2 separate regions of the Homo sapiens genome follow, and region 2 is linked to region 1. Evidence: promoter capture Hi-C in 16 types of primary human blood cells and fetal thymus (Javierre and others, 2016). All regions are on one chromosome and are shown on one strand. Each heading gives the region's core, a stretch centred on a gene start or on the middle of the fragment in contact. The rest is flanking DNA. Distances are from core to core; before and after follow the strand shown. Region 1 holds the start of LHX5 (LIM homeobox 5). Region 2 overlaps LINC01234 (long intergenic non-protein coding RNA 1234).

Region 1 (3,719 bases), core at 487-2,986:
TTTTCTTTCTTCTTTGAGCTCAGGGAGAAAGCCAGCCTCCCCCGAAATAGGAGATGGGTGAGGCTCAGGTTGGGGGTGGGGTGGGGGAGGACCCAGGACTCTAGGGACCCCACATCTACTCACACCCATGTCTCTAAACAGGGCGAATTTGGGTGACATTGATGTAGTGAGGGCATTAGAAGCCATAAGTCACTTTTGGCCTTATCCGGCAGCGTAATTGGCCATATGCACCTTATCAAAAATCATTAGGCACTTTGCAAGCACTGCTACATTAGGGGCATCGGGCCTCCGGGTCCAGGGAGTTAACACGTGTAAAGGAGCGGCTGACATTTTCTCCCATTCAAATTCTCAGTGCGGAGTCGCTGGGGCCGGCAGGCTGCCTTTCTCTGTGGCGTGATTCACGCCCCCATTCCTCAGCGCGGGGAATTCCTGTTCACAAAGCCGGCTCTGGGTGCCCAGAGGAAACAGGTAGGGCTCAGCTGCCCCAAACTCCAGTGGCTTCCAGGCTGGGGAAACTGAGGCCCAGAGAGGTGATCTGCCCTGGCCAGCCACAGGGCCCACAGGGGTAGGGGGGCTGGGGAGGTGCCACAGCCCAGTCTAGACCCCAGAGGTCCTGATTCTCAGCCTCGATTTCGTTTCTACTTTTCAACATGGGAGGAAATGTTTAAGGGGTTGGGAGGTGGGTGGGGGAGGTTCTCTCCTCCCATCACCAGGGGAGACCTTCCTCGCTGGGCCCCCTCTGGAGCTGAGAAGTTTCTGTTTGGGATTGCGGCCGATGGGCTCACACATTCTGCCTGGAGCGAGAAGCCTTCAGGCGTCTCTAACTCATGCAAAAATCCTTCCTCTCTCTCGGGACGGGGCTTGAAGCTTCTGTCTTGGGGTTGCAGCTGCTTGGAAGGGGCGGAGAGGAGTGGATAGCAAGTTTGTCAGGGCTTCCTCCCTCTGCCCCGCCAGCGCTCTGAGCCGGCCTCGAGCCAACGTGAGGCAGCGAAGCAGCGTCCTTCTTCCTCCGCCTGGGCTCGGGACCTTTCCTGGACCAAGGACAGGAGGAGAGCAAAGTGCTGCCCGCTCCCCATCTAAGCTTGTGATCCGGGGAGGCTGGGATGGGGATGGGGGTATCCCCTTCCCCAGCGCCCCAGTGGAGCGCGCGCAGGGTGGGCGCGCAGGCAGCAGAGCGGCGCGGCCTCTTACCTGAAAAAGTCATTTTTGCAGTAGAGCTTGCCCTCGCGCGAGAAGCACTTCTCCGAGAGGTTGGTTTTGCACTCGCAGCACTGAACACATTTGATGTGCCACGCGCGGTCCAGCACGTTCAGCAGAAAGCGGTCGAGGATGGGCCGCTCGCAACCGGCGCAGTGCACCATCATAGCCCCGCGCCCCGGCGGCTTCGGCCGCCTTGCCCTCCCTTTGGGCCCCTGGCCCTCGGGCCTGCCGGGCCCTCCGCTGCCCTTCGCCTCTTGTCTCAGCAGCTGCAGGGCGAGTCTGGTCCGGACCAAGACTCAGCCGGTCCAGTCCTTGGGCAATCTCTGGCCTGGCGCTGGGCTGCCCGGAGTGGGGTGGTGGGGGGCGGGTGGCGTTCACAACCTCATGCCACGGGCCGCACGCCCCGGCGCCTGTTCCGGGCTTCCCCAGGTATCTCGGGTGGCTGCTGGCCTCGGCGCTGCGGAGCGGCTTTCCCCGGTGGCGGAGGCGCCGGCACTTTCCCCCACTTTCAAGCGGTCCGGATCCTCATCTTTGTCTGGTCGCCGCGTAATTCGCGCATCCTTATTCAGATTTGGTGACGTGGCGCTGCACGTAGGGGGCCCAGCGGCCAATGGGCGCACCGTGGCCATGGCAACCTCTTAAATTTATAGCATATCTAAATTGGCTACAGCGTTGCTGTCCGGACAGAGCAAAAAAAACAAGGCATCAGTATTGTTGAGTATTAGCTTGTACCTGGTTCGGAGGCTAAGTAAGTATTTACCTTCCAGTTTGGGGCTGACGGGGCGGGGGCAGCGCGAAACGAAAATTGCGTCTCTCTTCCTCTCTCTTTCTCCTCACAAATATTTGGGGGTCACGGGTTCCAAGGCCTAGTCCGGGAGGTACCCCTGCCCCCTTCGCCATCCCTGGAACTTGCAGAAGTTGCCCCACGCCCCACACTTCGCTCCCCTTCTCCAGCCCAGCCAGCCCAGATTGGATTCCCCCACCCCCGCGCCCCCTCTGCGCCCTGAAGCTGCGTCAGCGCGGTTCTCCCGGCTCCTGGAGCCGGCCCCGGCTTCTTTTTGTCATACACGGGGCTGGGGCCCAGCCGGGCCTTTCTCATGGAGAGAGCTAGTGGAGACCGCGCGGCCTGGGTAGTTTTCCCCGCCCGGCCGCCGAGCCCAGGCCCAGGCCCAGGGTGGGGAGGCGGGGGAGCAGGAGGGGTGCCATTTGGCCTGGTCCCGAACTCCAGAGTTTCAGGCCTGAGTGCGCTGCTCACGGGGCTCTGAGGGAGATGTGGACAGGGGGAGATTCAGGGTGGACGGGTCTTCCCGCAGACAGCTCGGAGGTGGCACTCACCACGTCTCTCCTTTCCTCGCTGCACCTTCCAGATTCCAGGTCAGCCTATGGGGCACTGTGGTGAGTGGGTCGTACGGCTGAGGCGGGGGACACCAGCGACTATGAGAGCGCTGTTTGTATTCACGCCGTGCGGGCTGGGTGTGCAAGTTCGTCCCCTCATTGGGCGCAGGAGAAGCGGCGCACGTATGTTCCGTGCTCGGCAGGGCGCCCAGAGTGTGAGGAGAGAGAGTGTGTGTGTGTTAAGGGGGAGGGGGGATGTTGGCAGGTGTGCGTGAGGAGGGGGTGTGTGGGTCTGAGTAGGAGAAGGGACCAGGCCTCCTTTCCCCTGGGGCCAGCGTGGCCACCAGGGATCCTAGTTGGGGAAGCCGGGAATGGGCAACCAGGATTTGCCTTTCGCTTCTGGAAAGGGGGCTGAGGGAGTAGGGCCTGGGACCAAGGGCTGGAGCTGGAGGGGTTTGTGCCAGCACTTGGCTGTGAATGTTTGTTTGGGTGTGTTTCCTGAGCTTGTTAGTGTATACTCGCTGTTTGAGAATTCCATTTTTGCATCTGTTTATTGTGTTAGTACCATCAATCCTGTGAGTAAATTTCTGCGTGTGCGTTTTCGTGTGTGCAGATTCGTGTGTTTGTAATTGTGTATGGTCCTGCTAATGTTTGTGTTTATCACTGTGTGCACTTTTATTTTTGTTGGTCTGTGCCTATGTGTGTTTGCTTATTTGAGGATGCATAAATGTGAGGGTGTTTTCATGTGTACGTGTGCATTCACGTAAGAGTGTTTGTGTCTGTGTTTGCAAGCATTGATGTGAAGGTGTACTTTGAAAAATCTGAATGTGTGTGTTTGTGTGTAGGTGAGGGCGTGCATGCTTGAGACCCTGTGTGTATGAGACTGAGCTGGCTTGGTTGTGTTTGTGAGTGCAGAATTCTGAAGAGCTATGTTTGTGTGCCAGTCGCTGTGTGTGTGTGCCTGCAAATGTGTGTATTTGTGCAAACAGTAGTTTTTTGTTTATGCAACTCCTGTAGGCTTTTGTGTGTGTGTGTGTATGTGTGTGTGAGGGGGTTATGTTTGTATTTGTGTTTGTGTGTGTACTCCTAGCTGCGCTTACCTTTGTGGATTCGGAGGTTGAGGGAGCAGGATTTGTGGATGCCTGTGTTGGGGCTCAGGGATGCCCACTTGTCCCCCTTCCTCT
Region 2 (3,719 bases), core at 676-3,175, 270 kb after region 1:
TGGAGTGGATCCTGCTGCCACCTCTCCCTCCTCACCTCAGCCCCTCCGTCAAGAGGGAGGCAGTGAATTCAGCCAAATCGCTTCACCAGCCTTCTGCCTTCTGGTGCCCTGGGCAGTGAGCATGGCTGTGGCAGTCATGAGATGAGGAGGCCTCCCAGGACATGTCACATGCAAGAGCGCATGTAGATGATGGGTCAGTTCGAAAACATGTGCATCTACTACGTGCCAGGAACCGTGCAATACATGCGGGATCCGAGGCTCCATTAGACATGTTCCATGCCCTTGGGGAGTCTGGTGAGTTAGGCAGGGAATGTGTCCAAAACCAAATAAGGATGAAGGAAGCACCAAAGTAAGTGTCCCTTTGTGTGCCACGATCACTTGCTTATCCTTCAAATATTCAGTATGAAATGGTCACAGGTTTCTGCACTTGGTCACTGAGAGGCTGGGAGGATGAAATATGTAGAATGCTCAGCACAGTGCCTGGCACCCGACAGGCCTGCAGTAAGTAACAGGCAGCTAGAGTGAGGCTGCCGGGGTGCAAATTCCAGCTCAAGCTTGAGCAAGCCCTTAGTGTCTTTTTATTTCTGTTTCCTCACCTGTAAAATGGGAAGAATCATAGTAAGTCCCTCATCAGGTTACTGTGAGAGTGAAATGAATTAACATGCATGCAAAGCTCTTAGACCACTATCTGGCACGTCTGAATCTTGTGGAAGTGCAAGCTGTTTTTATTATTACAGCAGTGTCCCCTGACCTGAGGGGGATACATTTCAAGACTTTTAGTGGATGCTTAAAACCATGGATAGTAATACACAGATGGTCCCCAACATATGATGGTTAGACTTATAATTTTCTGACTTTACAATGGTGTGAGAGTGATATGCATTCAGCAGAAAACATACTTACAGTACCCATACAACCATTCAATTTTTTACTTTAAGTACAGTATTCAATATATAAGAAGAAGCTGGGCACAGTGGTTCACGCCTGTAATCCCAGCACTTTGGGAGGCCAAGGTGGGAGGATCACTTGAGGCCAGGAGTTCAAGACCACCCTGGGAAACAGTACCTCGTCTCTACAAAAATAAAAATTAAAAGATTAGCCAGGTGTGGTGGCACGCACTTGTATCCTAGCTACTCAGGAGGCTGAGGTGGGAGGATGGCCTGAGCCCAGGAGTTCAGGGTTGCAGTGAGCTATGATCATGCCACTGCACTCCAGCCTGAGTAACAGAGCAGCCTGTTACTCAGAAAAAAAAAAATTAAAATTAAGAGATGAGATATTCAGTGCTTTGTTAGAAAATAGGTTTTGTGTTAGACGATTTTTTTTCAACTGTAGGCTAGTGTAAGTGTTTTGAGGATGTTTAAGGTATGCTAGGCTAAGCTCTGATGTTTGGTAGGTTAGAGGTATTAAATGCATTTTCAACTTAAAGATCTTTTCAACTGAACGAAGGGTTTATCAGGACATAACCCTATTGTGAGTTGAGGAGCATCCGTACTGTTTTTTCCTATACACACATGCCTGTGGTAAAGCTTAATTTATAAATTAGGCACAATAAGAGACTAACAACAATAACGAATAAAATACAACAATTGTAACAATATACTGCGATAAAAGATACGTGAATGCGGCCTCTCACTTTCTCAGAATATCTTAGCGTACTGTATTGTACCATGGGTAAAGGGGACTACTGAACATGCTAGCTATTGGTTTTACTTTCCTCGATGCTGCAGTTCTTTGGGAGCTTGAGGTTTCACCTGCAAAATGGGGATAATAGCAGTTTATCTACCTAATAGGTGAGGATTAAAAGAGATAATGTAGGGAGATAATGTATATTCAGGGCAACTTGAATCTATGTTCCTGGGCAAAAACATTATTTTTAATAAGACAGATAATGTATGCAAAATGCCGTCTTAGTCCATTTTCTGCCGCTATAACAGAATACCACAGACTGGGTAATTTATAAGGAAAAGACATGTATTTCTCAGTTCTGGAGGCCGGAAGTCCAATAGCAAGGTGCCAGCATCTGGTGAGGGGCTTCTTGCTGTGTTATCCCATGGTGAAAGGAGGAAGCACAAGCTAACATGAGAGACAGACAGCAAGAGAAAAGGGGGGTCCACTACTGCGATAAGGGTATTAATCCATTCACGAGGGCAGAGTTCTCATGACCTGATCATCTCTTAAAGTTCTCACCTTGCAACACTGTTGCAATGGCAATTAAATTTTAGCATGAGCTTTGGAGGGGACATTCAAACCACAGCAAATGCTTATCTCAGGTGTGGTGCTTAGCAGGCACACAATATACTCGTAGTGATGATTATCTGTTCACGCAAGCTTGTGTTGGAATAATTAAGGTATTTGACTTCTCCGTCCTCCAGAGGAGGTTCATAGTGACATACATGGTAACAAATATGTATCATAGGTGCTGTAACTACATAAAACAAAGGCACATGGGTCTGGGCAGCTAGGATAGATAATTCCAGCCTCATCTACATCTACTCTTCACGCAGAGGAGACATCCTGGCACCTCCATGCCTTTGTGCTGGTAGGATTTTCCTCGCTGTATTCATTTCCTAGGGCTGTCATGACGGAATGTTACACACTAGGTACCTTAAAATAACAGATGTTTATCATTTCACTGTTCTGAAGGCCACAAGTCCAAAATCAAGGTGTTGGCAGAGTTGATTCCTTCTGGAGGCTCTAGTAGAGAATCAGTTCTCTGCTGTCTCTCTTTTCAATTTCTTTTCTCATTTCTCTTATTTCTATATGCATTAAGACTCAATCTGGCTTAATGCCAAAGGGTATTTATGAACTCAAGTAACTGCAAAGTCCAGGAGATCGTGGTGGCTTCAGGTGCAGCTGGACCCAGGGGCTCAAATGATATTTTCAGGCATCTGCTCTCCCACCATCTCTTGGCTCTGCTCTTCCCTTATTGGCTTTATTATCAGGCAGGCTCTTCTATCACGGATGCACATATTATCAGTAGCCCAGCAGAAAGAGAGTGCCCCTTTCAGAATAGTTCCAGGCAAAGCCCTGCATGTCACTCCCTTGGTCTGGCTTGAGTCACAGGTCCAGAGTTGAACCAATCACTGTGCATTTGGTTGTCCAGGCTTGAGACCTTCACTCATTTATAACTGGGGGAAGGAGGTAGTGCCTTCAAAGGGAAATGGTTTGAAGTTTCTATACAAAGGGGGAAGGTATGATGAGCTTGCCAAAATACTGACTATTCTCCCCACTCTCCTTCCTTTCCTCTGATTCCACCTCAAATGCTGAGCTGGACTCATGATGTGTGCAGAGACCCTGAGTCCTGGGTGTTCTCCAAGAGCACATGCTAAGTGGTGGGTGGGGTGAGAAGAGACAAGCGTTTGAAAGGTGAGATGTCAGGGCAGAAGAAGACCACTCAGCACCAAGAGTTTCTTTTCAGGGAATAAAAATGTTGAGACTTGAGGCCATCATGTCCACTGCCTTAGTAGTATAAATGGAGAAACTGAGACCGAGGAGGTGAAGGGACTTGCTTGGGGTACCCTGTGAGTCAGTGGCAGAGCAAGAAGCAAAACATTCATCTCAGATTCCTGGGCTGGTCTTCATTCCCCCACACACTTGCATGGTCAGATGGGTGGTTGTTTTGTGGGATGTAGCTACCTGCTTGCAGGAGACTCTGGAGATGGTGCCCAAGAAGAGATGCCATTTTGGATGGACACTGAAGGATGAGTAAGCTTTTGCCA

What was found. Contacts are between HindIII fragments. The CHiCAGO score rates a contact against its expected background, and 5 or more counts as called.
Region 2: a contact is called between a fragment that was not itself captured here and the fragment with the promoter of LHX5 in region 1, in 1 of 17 cell types (megakaryocytes). The highest score is 5.1, in megakaryocytes.

Annotation. Positions count from the first base shown.
Region 1 is chr12:113,470,135-113,473,853 of GRCh38, forward strand. LHX5 (LIM homeobox 5) reads right to left here and starts at 1,737. Exons shown (of 5, transcript NM_022363.3): 1 at 1,192-1,737. The coding sequence starts at 1,364. LHX5-AS1 (LHX5 antisense RNA 1) reads left to right here and starts at 1,869. Exons shown (of 2, transcript NR_126425.1): 1 at 1,869-1,948. RefSeq lists an enhancer at 819-1,619. The HindIII fragment of the contact is 6,712 bases long and covers 1,080-3,719 here.
Region 2 is chr12:113,742,724-113,746,442 of GRCh38, forward strand. LINC01234 (long intergenic non-protein coding RNA 1234) reads right to left here. Exons shown (of 3, transcript NR_110026.1): 3 at 1,854-3,719. Among named protein-coding and RNA genes, the nearest start is that of LINC01234, 29 kb to the right of the region's middle. The HindIII fragment of the contact is 802 bases long and covers 1,525-2,326 here.